Linked DNA regions of Homo sapiens: region 1 is linked to region 2. Evidence: promoter capture Hi-C in 16 types of primary human blood cells and fetal thymus (Javierre and others, 2016). All regions are on one chromosome and are shown on one strand. The core of a region is centred on a gene start or on the middle of the fragment in contact, and the rest is flanking DNA. Distances in the headings are between cores, read along the strand shown. Region 1 holds the start of RBPJ (recombination signal binding protein for immunoglobulin kappa J region). Region 2 holds the start of ZCCHC4 (zinc finger CCHC-type containing 4).

The links. The method cuts DNA at HindIII sites, captures the fragments that hold promoters and counts their contacts. A CHiCAGO score of 5 or more calls a contact.
Region 1: a contact is called between a fragment that was not itself captured here and the fragment with the promoter of ZCCHC4 in region 2, in 1 of 17 cell types (naive CD4 T cells). The highest score is 6.1, in naive CD4 T cells.

The regions. Positions count from the first base shown.
Region 1 is chr4:26,319,436-26,324,915 of GRCh38, reverse strand. It overlaps RBPJ (recombination signal binding protein for immunoglobulin kappa J region), which reads right to left and starts at 3,902. Exons shown (of 11, transcript NM_015874.6): 1 at 3,868-3,902. The coding sequence starts at 3,887. RefSeq lists enhancers at 2,525-3,446, 4,679-4,728 and silencers at 3,559-3,658, 3,729-3,858, 5,329-5,480. The HindIII fragment of the contact is 759 bases long and covers 1,377-2,135 here.
Region 2 is chr4:25,310,339-25,315,670 of GRCh38, reverse strand. ZCCHC4 (zinc finger CCHC-type containing 4) reads right to left here and starts at 2,897. Exons shown (of 13, transcript NM_024936.3): 1 at 2,735-2,897; 2 at 1,507-1,625; 3 at 271-353. The coding sequence starts at 2,861. RefSeq lists enhancers at 2,779-2,838, 2,367-3,243, 4,831-4,970 and silencers at 2,837-3,041, 3,049-3,118. The HindIII fragment of the contact is 7,197 bases long and covers 1-5,033 here.

The DNA of each region.
Region 1 (5,480 bases), core at 507-3,006, 1.0 Mb before region 2:
TAAAATTAATCACTGCTATTAACAGACTTGGCTTAGAGTCCAGTGAAAGCATGTTGTACTACCATTTGTTAAATATTACTACATGCAGGCCAGGCATGGTGGCTCACCCCTGTAATCCCAGTACTTTGGGAGGCCAAGGTGGGCAGATCCCTTGAGGTCAGGAGTTTGAGATCAGCCTGGCCAACATGGCGAAACCCCATGTCTACTAAAAATACAAAATTAGCCAGGTATGATGGTGTACGCTGGTAATCCCAGCTACTCAGGAGGCTAAGGCACGAGGATCGCTTGAACCCAGGAGGTGGAGGTTGCAGTGAGCTAAGATTGTGCCACTGAACTCCAGCCTGGCCACAGAGTGAGACCCTGTCTCAAAAAATAAAATAAAATAAATAAATAGAATATTGCTACATGCAGAAAACAAAAGAGGAAAGGCATCCCATAATTTTATAATGTTATTACATTTGAGTTTGACAGAACTTCAATCTCTTACACCACACACACACACACACACACACACTCACACACGACACATCACCCTGTAATTTGTTTTATTTGTCCCTTTCCCTATAAGTTTATGGGGGGCAGGAATAAAGGTATCTGTTTTATTACCCATATTATAATACATATTTGGGATTTTAAAAAATCCCACTATCGCTACTGTGTCTTGCCAAGAACTTAAAAACCTCCTATTTGACTTCCTATAAAATATGACCTACTTCACATTAGCTTATTTCAGTAACAATTCCTAGACCTTCCCCACAGTTTTCATCCAAGGATGCTCTCTGCGAATCTTAAGGCACAGCAATCCTGTGCAGATGTGGCAAGTTATTATAATTCCCATTTTACTACATAGTTAGGAAACTGGCCCAGGGGAAGTAGAGTAACTTGGAAATAATCACAAAGCCAGATGCCAAAAATAACAACTTTTAGTCAATCCATGAGAAAATACTGCCCCTAGTTGAGATAACATGAAATTTAGTATTAGGAGGAAGCAAAATGCAAAATAATGCTTTAAAGCCAAGTCCTGGGTCTTATTTCTAAAAATGAACAGAAGAATGAGATGTATAATAACTTTCAAACGAAACAATTTTTTCCTAATGCCTTACCCATCAAGGGTGCCAAAGGTTATTTAATGAATTACATCTGGCAAGAATGGCCTGTCAACCAAACCAATTTTGATCTTACCCACTTAAAAAAAACATTGATAGAAATCTGTTGGTATAGGACAACAGATAACTTTTTAACAAACCTAACTGCTTAAAATCTAATGCCTACAAGTGTGTATTAGTACAGATTTGAAAATATTGCAAGTCTCCTGTTTTCTGAAAATATACTCACAGATCCATCAGCAATATGCATGGATAATAAAATTTAAAGCTTTAACAGTTAATACTCAGAATGAAAGTTCTCCAGCCACAACGCATCCAGATTTCGAAATATGCTGCTGTTATAATTTAATTAAAAGCAGTTTTATTTCACCAATCATGTAAGTAAAAGTATTACACGATTTAGAAAGAAAAACGCAACTCAAATGGTAAAAGCGCTTTTATCATGTCTGTGTAATCATTCTTACAGGTACAAGTCAGAGCAAAATACCTTCCATTACTACACAGTATTTACACTTTGCTCCCAGTCAGAGAACCAGTGAGCTCAAGATTTTACCTTCAAAACAATGATTATGTACAAGAACAAGTAAGGGAGACATAAGATTATTGGTAAAACCCACTCAAGCGACCCAGACTGCAGATTTTCACAAAAAAACTTATGTATCAATCATGAAAACATGGTTTTCCATTAATTAAAACTCAAACTACTAATTCTAATCACAGCCAGAAAAAAAAGTATTTTCCAATGCTCCAATACTCGTTAGAGTAGATCTCGTATGTCCCCTATCAACAACACTTCACTATTGTAGAACTTCAGTTTGTAAATGAAATGACACTCCAAATGATTTTATGGGTAACATACCTTCTAAAAGTAGAGATCAACCAGTAGAAAAAAAACAAACTCTTGAAGAATACCTTCAGCATAGTAATCCTGGTAAATATAATAACTCTTATTCCTAGCACCCAGAATAACTCAAGTCATTAGAATACATCACACCACACCCCCCACCCCCATTCACACAACCCCAAGCTTTTAGCATTACCAAAACAATAAGAACTCGAAACACTTCAAGGGTTCTTTAACACTAGGAAGTGTCTTTAAAATAATCTCACTACAGGCTATTACGTGTGTGTGTGTATATATATATATAATATACATATTATACGTATACTTTTTAACTGCATTTGATTAATATCTTCCACAAAGATCTTAGAAGCAGTATTCATCGACCAGAAACTGCACTCTTCGGTGCTGTCCTCATTTCAACCCCAATGATGGGACAGAAGGGTTGTCACGCATCTACAGGGCAGCAAAAAGCACATAACTGTAAACTATCTAATGATTAAGAAAAAATAAAACATTTATATAAAATTCCCAAGCGGAATGCCTCTCCTTTTCCTTATGAGGCAGAAGTTACTGATAAATTCTAAATCCAGATTTCTAGAAAATGCTGAAATTCTCCGCCCCAACACTCACAAGTTTTTAACATGGAAATTCACTCAACTCCTACTCACACGCCAAATGAATATCCATTGTGGCTATCTGAAACTATTCTCAAACACTAACAGAAAAACACATATATACATCTTGAGCCTCCTTCTAACCGTCCTACGATACCCTCCAATCATCCTCAGGCAGCCTAGATTGCAAAGCTTCGACAGACAGCTGCCCTTGGCCTACGCCGTCAGGAACCAGGAGGGGGGCGGGGGCCGGGGGGCGCAAGAACCACCAAGAGACCAGATCTTTTTCCAAGGCTACTGTTTCCAAGCAAAACAACCCACGGCACTAAAAAGACGGCGATGAAAATTGGAGACGCTTTAATCCCGAGAGAAAGGGGTGGCGATAGGGGGGCGGGAGGGTACAAGAAATCCCGAGAAAAAGAGGTGCGGAGGAGAAAACTAAGTATCCCATGCATCTTTCAGACCCACAAAACAACAAACCGTAGAGTCTTGTGTGCACTTAGAAGCAGCAGATGGAGTCCCCGGGGCTGAGACAGTTCAGCAGACGTACACCGTGGGTTGTGGATAAATCAACCGATGACGGGAGAGGAAGGGGGTGCCGAGAGAATAAGCCCGTGGATGGGGGAGACAAAGCCTCGGGGGGTGATCCAGGACCATACAGAAAGGTGAGAGGGGACCCACAGGAGAAAGACAATGGAAGAACAATTAAGGCAGAAATCTGGTGCCCGGGCTGTGGCAGGTCACTGGGCTAACGACAAGAGTGTGGCACAACAAAGGGGCACGGGAGGAAGGACAGCGGAGGGGAGGAGATGGAGAGGGGATGCGGGACGCCACGGGTCGGACAAAGCGCCCAAGGCGGCGAAACAAAGGGCCGGGGGTAGAGAGTCGCAGCGGGTAGCGGTGAAAGACAAAGCGCCCGGGGCCGGGGGCACTAGCGGGGCGAAGCGGCGACAACGGCCGCGAGGAACAAAGATGCACGGGGCCCCCAGGCAGAGCCCGCTGGAGGCGCGCGGGAGGCACGGCGCCCGAGGGCCCCGCGCGCCCTGCCGCACTCACGCCCGCACCCGCCGGCCTCGCCGCCGCCGCCGCCGCCCGCCCTCACGCGCTGGAGCCTGAGCCACGGCAGCGCAGAGCGGCAGCGCACGGCCACACGCCGCCGCCGCCGCGCTCGGCGCACGCGACGCCGCCCCCGCGGGCCCCCGAACGCCAAGCGCGCCGCGGCCCCCGAACCCGCTGCCCGCCGTGAGCTGCCAGACGCCCGCAACTTTCCCGGTTCCCGGCGCTCCGATTCCCTCAGACTTACCCTGTCACAACAGGCGCCATCTTCCACAAACTCTCGCCAAAACTCCAACCCTCGCGAGATTCCCCCCGACGCCTTCCCTGGTCCCTCTCCCCCGCCCCTTCCCTTTTTCCTCACTCCTCGATTCCACCCAGCCCCCGCGCTCCCTTTCCCCTCGCCGCCGCCGCGAAGAGCCAGACGCCTCGCGCCGCCCGCAGAGTAGGGGATCCTGCTCGCTGCCTTCCCTGGAAACCTACCCAGGCGATGGAGCATGCGCAGGCGGCTCCTCCGCGGGCGAGCCCTCCGTGTGGTCCATGGGGAGCGCTCCGGTTATCCGGGTTTTAGGACGCGCTTTGAGGGACGTACGTGGAGACTGAGGAAAACCGGAGGGGATTACTACGGGGACGAGGAATGGAGGGGTCAGGAGGCGGGGCCGAGGAGAAGGGAGGAGGGGTCCTGGGAAAATGGGCTGCGTTTCACAGGCCTAGATGAAACACCTCCTCAATGGGTGTTTTCCAAGCGGCTTCCCGCTCACTCTGGGTTCCCAGCTATTTTCATTCATTCAAACGTTCCCTGGGCGCCTCCTTTATGCTAATCTCGGCGTTTGGTGCAGGAGCGCCAGAGATGTCTGGGGTTCGGGCAAGTGACACGTCGGGGACTGTCTTCATTCATTACACCCCCCCATGCTAATGAGGAGGCCCTTCCAGAGCTCCTCAAGCGGAAAACTTTTGCAGTTGAGCTCTCTCGCCTTAGCGTTCTCCTTGGGTGTGAAATGAGGTCAAGCCAAGGCCTCTAGCAAAGACACCCCTAATGGCCACCTCGCAGACACACGCCAGAGCGCGGAGTAGTTCTCTCCAGAAGGGAAAACTGCCTTGGAATTGAGAGCCACATTCTCCCACCTCCGAGTCTGCCCAGAGGACCCGATCAAAGCTCTTGCCGCTCGCGTGCTGCATGGCCTCTCTAAGACCCCATCGCAGCCACCACCGTGTGTGAGCCCAGGTGTGTGTTGAGACCACTACTGCACAGGGAACCGGGCCACCCGAGGGCCTGGCACAGCCGAGGACGCTGCCGGCTGCCCGAATCGCGCTTCAGGCGGCCTGATCCCGGAAGCCCCCGGGCAAACCTGGCCCCACCGGGCATGGAACAGCAGGGTGAAGGGCCCGAATCCCGCCCCCTCCTCCTACCTGCAGCCCCCCATCTTTCCCCTCCTTTGCTCTTTCCTTTCCTAGAGATTCCCAGATCCAGCACTGCCTCCCGCAGGGAGCCCCAAAACCCGGAGAACTGGAATTCGCCGCCCGAAACCTGTTGAAGGCGCTGCAGGATTGGCGCGGCCCGCGCGAGCGGCACTGCGCATGTACCCAATGCGGGCAGTCCAGTCTCACGCTACACCTCCTTCCCACCGCCTTCCACTACTCGGCTCAGACACAACACGGCCGTGGGAAATTTCCTAAACCTCGCGAGAACGTGCCCCTGTTGCCTAAGCTTTCGCCCCAAATCTCGCGGAGCCAAGGCAGGACAGGTGTTTGCCTAGACCAGCTCCGGGCGCCGTTCGTGCAGCGCGTGCCCGGGAGGCGGGCGGCGGGCGGCGGGCGCGGGCGGGGTGGGAAGGGAGCGGCTTGCCGCGGAGGCGGGGCGGG
Region 2 (5,332 bases), core at 1,648-4,147:
TAGAATGAGGAGTTACAGCATAATGGTGGCAGTTTCTGTTTGGAGTGATGAAAAAGTTTTGCGAATAGGGGCAATGGTTACACAACAACATGAATGTACTTAATGTCACTGAATTGCACACTTGAAAATGATTAAAATGGCAAATTTTATATTATATATGTAACTACAATAAAAATAAATAAATGAAAGTAAACTTAAAGGCACAGAAAAAGGCAATAACAAAAAAAATGACAGCTAAACTAATAAAGAAAAATGACACTGCATCAGTACCTTTCCACACACTGCGTTCGGGACAGGGGAGGCTGACATCTTCGGTTATGAGCTTCTCGGGCAGCAAGTCTAGCTCCTGACAACTGAAAGAGAGTACAAAACCCATTGAATAAACTGTGAAATATCTATCATCCTAGAAGAACTGGCATCACATTCTGACATCAAGAAGTCAGAAATTCAACCAACTCAACAGGCATTCATTTCAGGAGAAAACAAAACAGCGAAAACTGGGAAAATTCTAGAGCAGCTTGAAGCAATATCCAGCATATTAAAGCACTGAGAGATTAACATATGTTCACTGTAGCATCATCCACAATAGCAAAAAGGTGGACACAAACCAAGTATTCACCTTAATGGGTCTGCAGAAGAGTGGTATATAATACTGTTTTACCATAAACCTAACAAAACTGAAAATTCTCTGGTCAAAGTTTTCAGAAACTTCAACTGGAGCCGAGTTCAAGAGGATACCAAGCTCATGACTATATCTCTAAGTGCCTTCATTGGTCATCTAATAGCTGTATAAGGGATGTTCAATGCAAATGTTCAAAAAAAGTGTTTTTTAACACTTTCTGGAATGATCATGATTTCTCTTTAGTGAGCAATCTGTATCTGCCAACGGTGCTATCGACTGAATGTTTGTGCCCCCTAAAATTCGTATGTTGAAGCCTTAACCCCAATGTGATGGTATTTAAATGAGGCGCCTTTGAGAGGTAATTACGTCAAGAGGGTAGAGCCCTCAGGAATGAGATTAGTGTCCTTCTAAGACAGACAGTGCTTGCTTCCTCTCTCTGGGAAATGAGGATATAAAGAAAGGATGACCCTCTGCAAATCAGGAAGAGGACAGGACCTACACCAGACACTAGATCTGCCAGCATCTTGATCCTGGACTTCCCAGTCTCCAGAACTGTAAGAAACAGATGTCTGTCGTTTAAGCCACACAGCCTATGGTACTTCTGTTACAGAAGCCCAAGCTAACACACAGAAGATCAGCCCCACCCAATATTACCACCTCAGAGAGTCTTATGGGGAAATAAGACTTTGAGACAGTAGTTTAAGATATCAGTAATCAGAGTAAACATGAACTCATTTTCTGAACCAACAAACATAGTATCTCCATCTCTCTTAAGAGATTTATCTTGTATGTTCAGACCGCATATTTTTATTGGTTTACACGTTCTCAACAAAATTGTCACACATACCAAAAATAAAAAATAAATATCCAAAAAGTTGATATACCTTTTCATCTTCCCACTGAAAAAAATTACAGTCTTTTCTATCTCTACAGGCTGAACAGGCATAAAACCTCCGAGTTTCTTCTTTCCCTTGGGTCACCTTTACAAACAGAAGAGTGGGTCCTAGTTCCAGAATAGAAAAAAAAAAAAAAAGTGTCAAGTAATGGTCATCTACGTCAAGTTCTTAGTTTTCGCTGCCCTTAAATAAAATTTGTTTGAGCTTTAGGCACAATTTATCATAATTAAATCCATCTCTTTGGTTGGTTGTTTTTTGTTTTGTTAGGGTTTTTTGTTTTGTTTTCTTGAGACAGGGTCTCCCTCTGTCGCCCAGGCTGAAGCGCACTGGCACAATCATGGCTCACTGAGATCCTGCTTCCTAGCCTCAAGCGATTCTCCCGCCTCAGCATCCCGAGTAGCTGGGACTACAGTTGCGTGTCCCCAGCTGTTTTTCTTTTTTTGTAGACGGAGTGTCATCATTTTTGCCCGGGCTAGTCTCAAACTCCTGGGCTCAAGCGATCAGCCCGCCTCGGCCCCCCAAGTGCTGGAACTACAGGTGCACGCCACCACGCCGGCTTCTCTGTGTTTAATGAATGTTTCTTTTCTCTCTGTTACAACATTCCGGCAGTGACTACTTATAAATAATTTTTGAAAACCGGTCTCTTCAGAAAGAAAATGCTATTGTCGGTACAGTTGCTGTCTACGTTGTGAATATTACAAACCTGAGACTAAAACAAGGAAGGGACTCAGAGAATTGAGGACTTTGACATCTCTTGCGCGGTTACCCTTGCAGTGAAAACCTGAGCTTTGAGCTGGAAACGCCCACTTTCTGTAAGTTAGAGAAAAACTGAGTCTAGTTCGCAGGCAAGAATTACACTGTTTTTCTCCCTAATTTTTTATTTTTGAAGGGAGAGCAAATCAACAAATGAAATCCCCAAGTACTTGTCAACGAGAACTATTCAATACCATGCATTCTTCTCTTTGCCTACTTTTCTGCCCCTTCCCCCCAAAAGAGATGAAATAGTCCTGGAGCCAAAACCACAAGAGTGGAGACTTGCTCTGAATGTTTCTCAAGTAAGTTGAAAAACACCGCGTTCCGAGGAAGGAGTATTTTCTAGGCAGCACACTGGTGAGGGAAAGAGGCGGGTAAAAATACAGGAGCCCCAAAAGCCACTTCCAAGCCAACTCACACCCTCAGCGCCCGGCAGTTAGGCTGAGCCCAGACTCTGACCCACCGTGAGGGCACAGCGGGGCGGGGACGGCAGGATCCAAAGGAAGCACCACCTCCATTCCCGAGCTTCCCCGGCACCCTGCGCTGCCCTCTGCCTCCACGGCTTCAAACCCATTCCTGGAGGCCGCCATCTTCCCGCCGCCGTCCCGAAAGCCTCAGTACGAAACAAGAATGCTGAGAAAGAGCGCCCCCGCGACCCAAAGCGACCCACAGCGCCCCCAGGCGCTTAGGAGGAGCTTGGGCGGGGGCTGCCGCGGCGGAGGCCACGCCCCGAAACGCAGTCCCCGCCCACCTGGGGGCTGCACCTAAGCGGCCCCTAGCGGTGGGGCTCGCAGGTCACTTGCGGGACCTGTGCCATGAGCTCAGCGCATGAAGCACCCTCCTTTCTTAAGAATATAGCCAGGAAGTGAGATGATTCGAACAAAGACTTGGTTGTATTGTAGGTCCAAAAGGCAGCATTACCACCTCTGCCAAATAGCTGAAATGGCTGCAGCAGCTGTGATTTAAGGATCATTCTTTGTTTTTCAAAGTCACAGTCACTGCATCATCCTCTGTAACTTTTGGACAATGCTGAAAGTTGCACATCATAGTTGCATACTCATTGACATTTATACATAAGAAAGAAAGAAAACCGTCCTGATTTGCAGATGACATGATTGTCCACATTTTAAAAATCCGAAAGAATCTATCAGGAAAACACCTCCGGTTTAAACTGAGTTCAGCAAGGTTGCAGGATATGAGATAAACACACAAACATCAACTGGATTTCTAAATACTAGCAATGATCACAAGAACACTAAAAAATAGAATACCACTTACAATCACTCAAATAAATGAAATAGGTGTAAATCTAACGAAATATGTACAGAGCTTTATGTATGCTAAAAACTCCAAAATGCTTGATTAAAAAAAATCAAGGCTGAGTGCAGTGGCTCACACCTGTAATCCCAGCACTTTGGGGGGCCAAGGAGGGAGGATTGCTTGAATCCAGGAGTTCGAAACCAGCCCGGGCAACAAAGCGAGACGACATCTCTAAAATAAATAAGCAATTTTTAAAGTTTTTTAAAAATCAAAGAATAGCCGGGCACGGTGGCTCACGCCTATAATCCCAGAATTTTGGGAGGCCAAGGCAGGTGGATCACAAGGTCAGGAGATCGAGACCATCCTGGCTAACACCGTGAAACCCCGTCTCTACTAAAAATACTAAAAATACAAAAACAAAAAAATTAGCCAGGCGTGGTGGCGGGCACCTGTAGTCCCAGCTACTCGGGAGGCTGAGGCAGGAGAATGGCGTGAACCCGGAAGGCGGAGCTTGCAGTGAGCCGAGATTGTGCCACTGCACTCCAGCCTGGGTGACAGAGTGAGACTCCGTCTTAAAAAAAAAAAAAAAAAATCAAAGAATAAACAAATGCAGAAACATACTGCATTCATAAATCAGAAGACTCAACATAGTAAAGATATCAGTTCTCCCCAGGTTTAATGCTTATACAGGTGTAGCACAATTGCTATGAAAATCCCAGCCAGATTCTTTTTGTACATTTAGACAATATTCTGAAATTTATATGGAAAGGCAAGGGAACTAAAATAGCTAAAACAATTTTGGAAAAAGAATAATGAAGTGGGAGGAATCAGCCTACTCAATTTCAAGTCTTATAGTGCAGTAATCAAGACGCAGCCACATGTCTATGGTTGTAGACGAAATAGTCTCTTATGTTATTTAAAGAACCATTGGGGCATGTGCCTAGTTAACTTCACACATTGAGTGCTATGGTTTATTACTGTAAAAACATGGCTGTTTTTCTTTCACATTTCATGTAATGGTTTTACTCAAATTCTCCATCTGCACCAGTAGCATCTGTATCTTTGATGTACCAGTGTCCCCTTTTTCAAGTTGTCCAGAACACTTTTTCAGTGTATATTATCTGCACATGTCTGGTCTTTTGAGATAGGAAACTTTCTACAGCTATGATGATGATACTCTCGGACACTATCTCAAGACCTAACTAGCTGGGCACACATTCTCAGGACCCCTTGAGACAGTGCCCTAGGCAGAATAAAAACTAAAAGACCTAACTACCTACTCACATGAACTCTAGCACTTTTATTTACAAATTTGTTTTAGATGTACAAATTTGTGATCTTAAAAGACTTGTTTATAAAATTTGCAAGTGAATTTGTAACTCGTAAAACCAGAGTTACTGAGTCTGTATTTCCTCTTTCTCTTTTAAATAATGCTGATTCTGTGAGGCAACCTCTCTAAGCAGCCAAAACCAGTACAGATGTGCAGCCTTTACAGATAAGCTTCCCCAAACAGTAAAAACACAACAAAGATTGATCCAAATAAGGTAAATGGGAGGGCACTGCAAAATGTGAGAGCTGCTGAAGGTTTCAAACATCAGGCCATTTTGTTTGCAGAGGGATAATTTTGGGGAGAAAAAAAACTCACCTTATTTTCAGATATATATATGGTAAATAGCCTGTGTTAAATATTTACTGATGGGATTATGAATATGACCAATAAGTTATACATGTTTCATTTAATTTCCTGATAGTGTCTTTAGTCTGCACAGGAAAATGCTTGAGTAGAAACATACTGAGAGAT